3 separate regions of the Homo sapiens genome follow, and all the other regions are linked to region 1. Evidence: promoter capture Hi-C in 16 types of primary human blood cells and fetal thymus (Javierre and others, 2016). All regions are on one chromosome and are shown on one strand. The core of a region is centred on a gene start or on the middle of the fragment in contact, and the rest is flanking DNA. Distances in the headings are between cores, read along the strand shown.

Region 1 (3,474 bases), core at 181-2,680:
TTTGAGACAGAGTCTTACTCTGTCGCCCAGGCTGGAGTACAGTGGCACGATCTTGGCTCATTGCAACCTTTGCTTCCCAGTTTCAAGCGATTCTCCTGCCTCAGCCTCCCAAGTAGCTGGAATTACAGACACCTGCCACCACACCCGGCTAAATTTTGTATTTTTAGTAGAGACGGGGTTTCACCATGTTGGCCAGGCTGGTCTTGAACTCCTGGCCTCAAGTGATCCTCCCGCCTTGGCCTCCCAAAGTGCTGGGGTTACAAGCGTGAGCCACTGCGCCCAGCCTAATTTTTTGGAGCGACAGGGTTTCACCATGTTGGCCAGGTTGGTCTTGAAGTGCTGAGCTCAAGCCGTCTGCCAGTCTCAGCCTCCCAAAGTGCTGGAATTACGGGCGTGAACCACCGTGCCCAGCCAATTCTTATGCTTTTGCAGCCGCGACCTCCATCCACTCTCTACCCTACATGTCACTCCTCTGCTTAAAACCAAAAGATTTCCACTGTACTTAGAAAAAACTCCACATTCCTCTCTCTGACCTACAGACTCTATGTGACCAAACCCCAATTATCCGACCTCATCTCCTACCACTCTTTCCCTTTCTTACCATACTTTAGCCACACTAGCTTGCTTTCTGTTCCTTGACTATACTCTCAGTTGATTTCTGCCCTAGGGCCTTCACACTGGCTGTTCCCGCTGCCTGGACCACTCTCTTCCCGTATCTTCCTAAGCCTGCCTCCTAATTTGGGTCTCAACGCAAATGTCCCGTCCTCAGAGATGCTCTGCTAGACCACAGTATCTAATACTGACCCCTCCGCCCCACCCTCACACCAGTTACCGTGTCATATCGCCCTCCTCCATTTTTTTTTTTTTTTTACTATACAGTCCTACTTGAAGTTTCTAATCTTTCTTTTCTCATTAACCAAAACTGGAGGGAGGAAAAAGCCCATCATTTTCCCTGGACAGCAGCGCCTACTGGGAGTTTCACCCGCATTAACATGCAAACGACAGGCAAACTCCTAGTCATCCTTCCAAAGACCCTGCTCCATAGCCCTGCCGAGCCCGGTGCGCACCTGCTCACTTCCGACCCAGCGCGGTCGCACGAGGACTGGACGTTTGAGTCCGAGCAACTCCCCCCGGCTGAGGCGGCTCTTCGGGGGCTGGGCCGGGACCTATGAGTCTGGGACTCCAGCTCCCGGCCCAGGGCCGACAACTGCGAAGAGAACAAGCCCAAGGGCAGATTGTTCGGGGCTTAGTCGTGGGTAGCAGGGGTTCTGGAGAAGGCTGGGGCCCGGGAGGCCGGCCGAGCTTTCCCCGCCGCGCGCCTCAGCTCCGCCGGCCGCTGTGCCCGCCCTCGGCCCGCACCTGCCGGCTCCCAAGCCCGCCCGCTCTCACCTCGCCCCGCAGCCCCGGCCCCGGCTTCCGGCGCCACTGTCATCGGAACCGGAAGCCGCGGCGGGCGATCGGCGGCCCGGGCCCGCCCATTGGCGGTTTTGCGGAGGGGTGGCCGTCCCACGAGCCCGCGGCTTTGCGCCTCACCGCCGAGGCTCCCCGCCGCGCATGCCGAGTGGAGTCGCCCGCGGGAACCGGGCGGCGGCCAGAAAAGCCGCGCCTGTAGTCCTCTGGGGGTCGCGCCTGGTCGTTTCCAGGTTCCGAGTCCCTCCGGCCCGGCCCCGGGCCTCCCAGTCGGCGGAAGCCCCTGGCCGCGACCGCTCCTCGCCGGCGGGCGGGTTCCCCACCCGGCAGAGGCGTCGGCCTCGCACTCAACCCAGCACCCGACTCCCGGGTCAGAAGCCCCAAGCCCCAAGTGGTTACGCTTACAGCGCTGCCCGCCCTGCTCAGTGAGGGCGGCGCGGGGGCCGTGAGGGGCAGTGGCTGGGCTAGGTGCGCACCGGCCTCGGCAGGGCTGTGGAGCAGGGTCTTTGGAAGGATGACTAGGAGTTTGCCTGTCGTTTGCATGTTAATGCGGGTGAAACTCCCAGTAGGCGCTGCTGTCCAGGGAAAATGATGGGCTTTTTCCTCTCTCCAGTTTTGGTTAATGAGAAAAGAAAGATTAGAAACTTCAAGTAGGACTGTGAACAGGCTTAGGGATCCTGGACAGAGCCTAGAAATCTCAGGAGAACTGAGAGCTCTTGAAATATGAAGTGATGCTTAAAAAAAAAAAGAAAACTCCAGGCCGGGCGCGGCGGCTCACGCCTGTAATCCCAGCACTTTGGGAGGCCGAGGCGGGCGGATCAGGAGGTCAGGAGATCGAGACCATCCTGGCTAACACGGTGAAACCCCGTCTCTACTAAAAATACAAAAAATTGGCCGGGCGAGGTGGGGGGCGCCTGTAGTCCCAGCCACTCGGGAGGCTGAGGCAGGAGAATGTCGTGAACCCGGGAGGCGGAGCTCGGAGTGAGCCGAGACGGCGCCACTGCACTCCAGCCTGGGCGACAGAGCGAGACTCCGTCTCAAAAAAAAAGAATAGAAAACTCCGGGCCGGGCGGCTCACGCCTGTAATCCCAGCACTTTGGGAGGCTGAGGCGGGCGGAACATAAGGTCAGGAGTTCGAGACCAGCCTGTCCAATATGGTGAAACCCCGTCTGTACTAAAAATACAAAAATTAGCCGGGAATGGTGGCAGGCGCCTGTAGTCCCATGATCCTAGCTACTCGGGAGACTGAGGCAGGAGAATCGTTTGAACCCGAGAGGCGGAGGTTGCAGTGAGCCGAGATCGCGCCATTGCACTCCAGCCTAGGCGACAGAGCGAGACTCCGTCTCAAAAAAAAAAAAAAGAAAAGAAAAGAAAACTCCTTTCCTGTCCCAGCCTTTCTGGTCCCCTTAGCCCGAACTTAATCTGCCCACTGGGTATTCAACAGAATTCAGTTCTGCGGAGGAGGGGGTCCAGCCCTACCCTGCCGCCCTGTGTTGGTCGCTGTCCTGGGGAACGGGGGAAGGGGAGAAGATGGGAGCTGCCCATCTGCCCTAAGGAGGAAGGGTGAGGGTTAGGAAGGAGGAGGGAACAGGCACTGACCCCAAACCCAGGTCCAGACTGAATTTTCTTTTTCTTTTTTTGAGATGAAGTCTTGCTCTGTTGCCCAGGCTGGAGTGCAGTGGTGTGATCTCGGTTCACTGCAACCTCCACCTCCAAGCTTCGAGCGATTGTCCTGCCTCAGCTCCATGAGTAACAGATTACAGACATGCTCCACCATGCCCGGCTAATTTTTGTATTTTTAGTAGAGAGGGGATTTTGCCATGTTGGCCAGGCTGGTCTCAAACTCCTGACCTCAGGTGATCCACCCACCACAGCCTCCCAAATTGCTGGGATTACAGGCATGAACCACCACACCCAGCCCCAGATTGAATTTTCTATCCCGGACCCTCTGCTCTGGAGGGAAAGAGTAGAGAAGTCCCCACTCCTCCTCAGGCCTCAGCTGGGACTAGGAACAGCCCTGGAGAAAAAGCCAGGTCTCTGTGTTGCCCACTTCTGCTCCCTTTT
Region 2 (3,455 bases), core at 616-3,115, 1.4 Mb before region 1:
CCTGGGGTCAGTGCATCTACAGCAAAGGTACCAGTGGATGGGGAGGAATCAGGAAGCCTCGAGTGTGTGCTATGATGCTCCTTGGAAGGCACCACAACCTTTCCTCAGCTCTGTCCCAGCATTTTCTATGAAGTTGGCAATGTTCTATTATGTGCTATCTCATACAGTAGCCACTGGCCACACACAGGCTACTGAGCATTTAAAATGTGGCCGCTGTAATCGAGGAACAAGTTTTTTTTTTTTTTTTTTTTTTTGAGACAGAGTCTCGCTCTGTCACCCAGGCTGGAGTGCAGTGGCGCGATCTCGGCTCACTGCAACCTCTGCCTCCCAGGTTCAAGCGATTCTCCTGCCTCAGCCTCCTGAGTAGCTGGGACTACAGGTGCATGCCAACACACCCAGCTAATTTTTTGTATTTTTAGTAGAGACGGGGTTTCACCATGTTGGCCAGGATGGTCTCGATCTCTTGACCTCGTGATCCACCCGCTTCGGCCTCCCAAAGTGCTGGGATTACAGGCGTGAGCCACCGCTCCCGGCCGAGGAACTCAATTTTTAATTCAATTTAAAAGTACTGAATTTCAATTGATTCAGTTAGAAATTGAGGAATCCGGCCGGGCGCGGTGGCTCAAGCCTGTAGTCCCAGTACTTTACGAGGCCGAGGCAGGTGTATCACAAGGTCAGGAGTTCAAGACCAGCCTGGCCAAGATGGTGAAACCCCGTTTCTACTAAAAATATGGGAGGGGGGTGGGGGCGGGGAACTTAGCCGAGCGTGGTGGTGGGCACCTGTAATCCCAGCTACTCGGGAGGCTGAGGCGGGAGGGAGGATCGCTTGAACCCGGGAGGCAGAGGGTGCAGTGAGCCGAGATCGCACCACTGCACTCCAGCCTGGGCGACAGAGCAAGACCCGGTCTCAAAAAAATAAAAATAAATAAAAACAAAAACACACACACAAAAACATATGCGTGCTGTTGTATTGGATAGCACAGCTCTGGATGTCTGGCGTTAGAGGGCTAAGTTACTTAACTCTTACTATCACTGATATGCTGGCACTCTGTTCATTACAAGGGCTGAAAAGGTCTTTAAGAGATCATCGGGTGACTTTAAAATCCCCATCTCACAGGCAGAGGTGAGCGGAGGCGCCGCTGGTCCGCTGCGCGCAGGGCCCACGCCCTCCCAACACCCGCCGGCGCTCCACTCCCGCACTGAACGGCTGAAAAGCAGAACAGTGCTGGCTCCGTTTCGTGTGTGGAGTTACTACAGAGTTCCGAAGCCCGGACGCGCACACGTCCTTCACCTAGTTAGTGGGAGAGCATAGAGGCGCGGGTGCGGGAGCGCGCTCAGGCACGCGGGGCTGCGGGGGGCGGTCTCGGCTGGGCCGCCGGAGTAAAGACCCAGGCGCAGCCAGGCGCCGCCCGCCCGCCAACAGCTCGCGTAACCTCCCGGAACGGCCAGTGCCCTCCCAGCCCGGCCCCCACCGCGCCCGCGCCGGCGGCCAGCGGGGACACGCGAGTCCGCCGCGGGACAGACCCGGCCCGAGCCTACCTGCGCGCGCCGTGCCGTCCCCGCTGTCCCCGCCGCCCAGCCCCGCGGCCGCGCGCAGCGCGCTCCCGCAGCTCGCCGACAGGTTCCCGGTGGCCCTGCGTGCCAGGGTCAGGATGGGCGCCGACCAGCCCTCGGCCGCCCGCGGCCTCGTTGCGCTCCGCAGGTCGCCTGGGCCGGGCAGCTGGCTTCGGTCCACGATCTCAAACTCTTCTCCCGGCTCAAGCGCTGACCCGGGCCCCGGCCCCGGCTCCAGCTCCGGCTCCAGCTCCCGCCCCCGCCCAGCAGCGCAGCCGCCTTCCCGGTCGGCCATCTTGGCCGTGTCATGTGACCCAGCGGGCGGGCGGGCGCGGGGTGGGGGCGGGCGGGCATCGCCTTTGCCTTAGGTGGGGGAGATTTTTCTCCCTCTTCACCGCCTCGCCTTCCCTCTGTTTCGAAAGGTTCGGGAAAGTCCAAGTCATAACATAAAAAGTGTGCGTATTCCCGGCCGCCGGCAGGACCTGTTCGCGGGGAAGTTCCTCTTGAACTTTCTCCGAGGACAGTTGTGCACCCTGCCCGGCGCTTCACGGGGTTCCCTGGCCGTCGTTGTCTTTGTGACACCATTTCCTCTTTTAAATTTTCATTTCATGGTCTATATTTTCCACTTCGTCATTTTTCTGTAGCACTCATTAGAACAAGCCCCGAAAGGGCGACTAAGGAAACGCACAGGCGAGGCAGGAAAGCAGGAATTTTTTTTTTTTTTTAATCTAATGACTATGACGGCTTGGCAAGAAAGAGTGCACGATAGTGGACTGGAAATCAGAGGTGGCTTCTCCTATTGATTAGTTAAGTGGGATAACAAAAACCGACCTCATTATTAAATAAGATTTGCAGTAAGGACCACATGGCAGATGTTAGCGATTGTGACTACTATCTCTGGTATCCAACTGTGTGGCCTGGGTAAGTCACTATACACTCAGTCTGTTTCTTCACTTGGAAAAGAAAGGAATTTGAGTAAGTACAAAGGAAAATTTTGGCCGGGCGCGGTGGCTCACGCCTGTAATCCCAGCACTTCGGAAGGCCCAGGCGGGCCTTTAGTAGGACGAAACCCCGTCTCTACTAAAATACCAAAACAACAACAACAACAACAACAAAAAACCAGCCAGATGTCGTGGCGGGACAGCTCTACTCCTAGCTCCTTGGGGGGCTGAGAGTGGGAGGATCGCTTGAGCCCGGGAGGTCGATCCCACAGTGAGCGGAGATCATGGCCACTGCACTCCAGGCTGGGCGACAAAGTGAGACCCTGTCTCAGAAAAAACACTAAAATTTACTAGCACTTAACACTTTGCAAAGTGAGGCAACATGAGCCACACCAAACCAGCAGAGCTGTTTTGATTCCCAGAATGTTTACAAATCTTAAAACTTGTTGCCAATATTTAGAAATCAAAAGATTTCACATAAGAATCTGGATTTTAGCTTTCTCTGGAATCACTGGAATATTTGGTAACTCATGGCATATTCCCAGATGGCAACAAACTGTTGGGAATAAACTGTGCTGCCCCTTTAGACGCCCAGCTGCTCCCTGGACCTGTCTTGGTCCAGCCCACTTCACTAGGTTGCATGATATGTCTGGTCCCTGAAAGGCCAGTTCTCAGTGAAGGGATACCACTTCATCTAGGAGTGTTTTGGGAATTTGTGGAGTTGGTGTTTGAGTTGTGTAATGACTGAGGGCATACTACCAGTCTTTTTTGTTTGTTTGTTTTCGTACGGAGTCTCGCTCAGTCGCCCAGGCTGGAGTGCAGTGGCGCGATCTCGGTTCACTGCAAGCTCCACCTCCCGGGTTCACGCCATTCTCCTGCCTCAGCCTCCCGAGTAGCTGGGACTACAGGTGCCCGCCACCACGCCCGGCTAATTTTTTTTTTTTTTTGTATTTTTAGTAG
Region 3 (3,462 bases), core at 499-2,998, 1.4 Mb before region 1:
GTTCAGTACCTGTTTGCAGATCCTATGTAAAGTCCCTGGACTAACGAAAGTGTTCATCTAGAGCCAAAATTTCATTTTACCTGAGAATCCAAGTCTTCTCCTTTCAAGCAGAGATTGGCATCGAGAACATTGAGTCCCACCAGCAGACCAACAATCACCATCCCTTCTTCCTCCATCATTAAAGCCTCAGGCTCATAGAACTCGCTGAAAGAGATGGACAGGACAGGGCGATGCTCAGAAACAGCTTCACCATCCCCACTCCTTCCCCACCCTGAACTGCCTTTTCACCTGTGCCCTGGAGCCAGAAGATACTGCTGTGGATTTCCTCCCTCCCTTTCATTTCTCTTCACTGCTTCAACGGCTGCTTTTTCTCCCGTCCTCTCCTCTCTTCCTGTGGCTTAGAATGGGCTCGCCTCTCCTCCTGTCTAAAGTTAACTCCTCCATGCAGACCCTGGACCCCAGTTCTCCTCGTCTCCTCTTGACTCCTGTCACTCTCCCCTCCTGTGTCTCCACTGGCTCCTGTTCTGTGTTGATATGAATTACTTCTCCACTTATGCTGATATAAACAGGAAATGGGATCCCACATCCAAGAATAACACTCCTCCTTCTTGCGTCCCACGGAGCAACATCTGTTGCTTTACTTCCTTTATTGCCCAGTTATCGCGGCCATTTGCAGGGGGTGGTCCATCCCCTGCCTGATATTGCTCTGGTCAGCAATGACTTGCTAATGTACCAAATCCAGTGGCATCCAGGCCACTGTGTGTGTGTGCGTATAAGACTTTTCTCTTAAGAATTAGTTCATTAGTAAAGTGAGGGATATGGTAATTACCCTGATTTCATCATTACATAGTGTATACATGCATAGTATCCCATAAATATGTATAATTTTGTATCGATTATAAATAAAAAATTGAAAAATACTTTGTTCATTAGAAGAAAATCTGTAACTCAAAGTTACTCAGTGTAACTACTCAGAGTATGTGAAATATTGTAAATCAGTATTTGTCGTGTAAAGATATGTTCGACAATGAGCCATGACTTGAAAACACTGAAAGGCTTGGGTTTTAGGCTATGCTGTAAAATGTATCTATTTCTCAATTACAAGAAAGCTTTAACTCTGGAAAGAGTCCTTCCTCGTAAATCATCACAGTCTAGAGAACATTCCTTTTATAATGATTATTGCTTACTTATAAATATAAAAAATGAACCAGTCATAAATTTCTGTAAATATTATATACTTATTTTTTTATTTTTTATTTTGAGACAGAGTCTTGCTCTGTTGCCCAGGCTGGAGGTACAGTGGTGTGATCTTGGCTCACTGCAACCTCTGCTTTCCTGGGTTCAAGCAATCCTCCTGCCTCAGCGTCCTGAGTAGCTGGGATTATAGGCATATGCCACCATGCCCAGCTAATTTAGTATTTTTAGCAGAGATGGGGTTTTACCATGTTGTCCAGGTTGTTTTTGAACTTCTGACCTCAAGTGATCAGCCTGCCTTGGCCTCCCAAAGTGCTGGGATTACAGGCATGAGCCACCACACCTGGCTGATACACTTATTTTAATTCAAAATGATCTACAGAACTATGTTCTAATTATTATTTTTTTGAGAAGGAGTCTCACTCTGTCGCCCAGGCTGGAGTGCAGTGGCGTGATCTCGGCTCACTGCAACCTCCGCCTCGCGGGTTCGAGCGATTCTCCTGCCTCAGCCTTCTGAGTAGCTGGGATTACAGGCACCTGCCACCACACCTGGCTAATTTTCGTATTTTTAGTCTCTACTAAAAATACGACACCATGTTGGCCAGGCTGGTCTTGAACTCCGGACCTCAAGCAATCCACCTGATCTTGGCCTCCCAAAGTGCTGGGATTACAGGTGTGAGCCACCGCACCCAGCCTATGTTCTAATTATTTACCAAGCAAAAGATAAGCAAACATGGTTGATGAAATACCTTAAGAGATGTTTATTGTCTATAAGCACTTTCAGATAATCTGCCAGTTTCTTTTGCATGAGTGCAAGATAAAGCCACGCTCGGCCTCTTCCCACAGCTGTCCTAGAATTCAAACAGAGAATCAACTATTGTGGCATAACAACAACAAACACAGAAAAGACACCTGATTTAGCCAGGGAGACACATAGGAAACACACCCTTGTAAATGCAGACGATACTCTAAGAATGGCTGTTTGGGGTTGGGGAGGGATGCACATGGCCTGGGCAGGCAGCGAAAATGGCTCACCACATACCTTTGAGTACTATTACAAATACAATTAGATAATGCTTTGCTTATAGTCATAAAATATCACAGGAAAATATCAGGTTAGATTTGTGTAATGGATAAACATTCCTTCAAAAGACGAATAGAGAACTTAGTGCTTGTTAAAGTGCTGAAGCTTATAAAATCTCTAAGGGGTTAGGGTTAGCTCAAACGTACTTTTTATTTTTTATTTTTTATTTTTTTTTGAGATAGAGTCTTGCCTGTTGCCCAGGCTGGAGTGCAGTGGTGCAATCTCAGCTCATTGCAACCTCCGCCTCCTGGGTTCAAGCGATTCTCATGGCTCAGCCTCCTGAGTAGCTGGGATTACAGGCATGCATCACCACACCTGGCTAATTTTTGTTTTTAGTAGAGACAGGGTTTTGCCATGTTAGCCAAGCTGGTCTCAAATTCCTGGCCTCAAGTGATCAGGCTGCCTTGGCCTCGCAAAGTGCTGGGATTACAGGCATGAGCCACTGCACCTGGCCTTAAAGGTATAATTTTATGTTTTATTATTAATTGTGGTAAGATACACAGAACATAAAATTTACCATGTTAACCATTTTTAATCTTACAGTTAAGTAGTGTTAAGTACATTCACAATGTTGTGGAACCAATCTTTTTTTTTTTTTTTTTCGAGATGGAGCCTCACTCTGTCACCCAGGTTAGAGTGCAGTGGCACAATCTTGGCTCACCGTTGTGATCTTGGCTCACTGCATCCTCCACCTCGCAGGTTCAAGTGATTCTCCTGCCTCAGCCTCCCGAGTAGCTGGGATTACAGGCACCTGCCACCACGCCCAGCTAATTTTTGTATTTTTAGTAGAGATGGGGTTTCCACCATGTTGGCCAGGCTAGTCTCAAACTCTTGACCTCAAGTAATCCACCCACCTTGGCCTCCTAAAGTGCTGGGATTACAGGCCTGGCCCCAATCTTGAAGGTGTAATTTTTCTGTATTCTAGCATTATCTCCAGAGAAGCAGAAAAGAAAGAAAAGAAGAGAAAAGAAAAGAAAAAAGGAAAAGGAAAGAAAGAAAGAACAGGCCTGCATTAAACATTAAAAGAAAAAAGGCCTCTCAAGTGCTGCTTGGTGAGACTGTAAACTTCACAACTTTCTTTTTTTTTTTGGAGACAGGGTCTTGCTCAGTCGCCCATGCTGTTGAATGGCATGATGATGGCTCCCTGCAGCCTGGAACTCCCAGGCTCAAGTGATAACCCTGCG

Evidence for each region. Contacts are between HindIII fragments. The CHiCAGO score rates a contact against its expected background, and 5 or more counts as called.
Region 2: a contact is called between the fragment with the promoter of RUFY1 here and the fragment with the promoter of RMND5B in region 1, in 1 of 17 cell types (M0 macrophages). The highest score is 5.1, in M0 macrophages.
Region 3: a fragment that was not itself captured here is called in contact with the fragment with the promoter of RMND5B in region 1 in 1 of 17 cell types (endothelial precursors); the score reaches 6.7 in endothelial precursors.

Annotation. Positions count from the first base shown.
Region 1 is chr5:178,128,970-178,132,443 of GRCh38, reverse strand. RMND5B (required for meiotic nuclear division 5 homolog B) reads right to left here and starts at 1,430. Exons shown (of 11, transcript NM_022762.5): 1 at 1,390-1,430; 2 at 1,068-1,207. RefSeq lists enhancers at 1-326, 1,605-2,256, 2,257-2,908 and a silencer at 1,284-1,873. The HindIII fragment of the contact is 11,712 bases long and covers 1-3,129 here.
Region 2 is chr5:179,548,964-179,552,418 of GRCh38, reverse strand. RUFY1 (RUN and FYVE domain containing 1) reads right to left here and starts at 1,865. Exons shown (of 18, transcript NM_025158.5): 1 at 1,540-1,865. The coding sequence starts at 1,849. All of the region lies in intron 4 of LOC128966623 (a long non-coding RNA gene), which reads right to left. It overlaps LOC105377762 (a long non-coding RNA gene), which reads left to right and starts at 1,915. Exons shown (of 4, transcript XR_941315.4): 1 at 1,915-2,475. RefSeq lists a silencer at 1,231-1,940. The HindIII fragment of the contact is 8,514 bases long and covers 1-3,455 here.
Region 3 is chr5:179,566,044-179,569,505 of GRCh38, reverse strand. RUFY1 (RUN and FYVE domain containing 1) reads right to left here. Exons shown (of 18, transcript NM_025158.5): 4 at 1,944-2,045; 5 at 81-204. All of the region lies in intron 4 of LOC128966623 (a long non-coding RNA gene), which reads right to left. Among named protein-coding and RNA genes, the nearest start is that of RUFY1, 17 kb to the right of the region's middle. The HindIII fragment of the contact is 1,274 bases long and covers 1,112-2,385 here.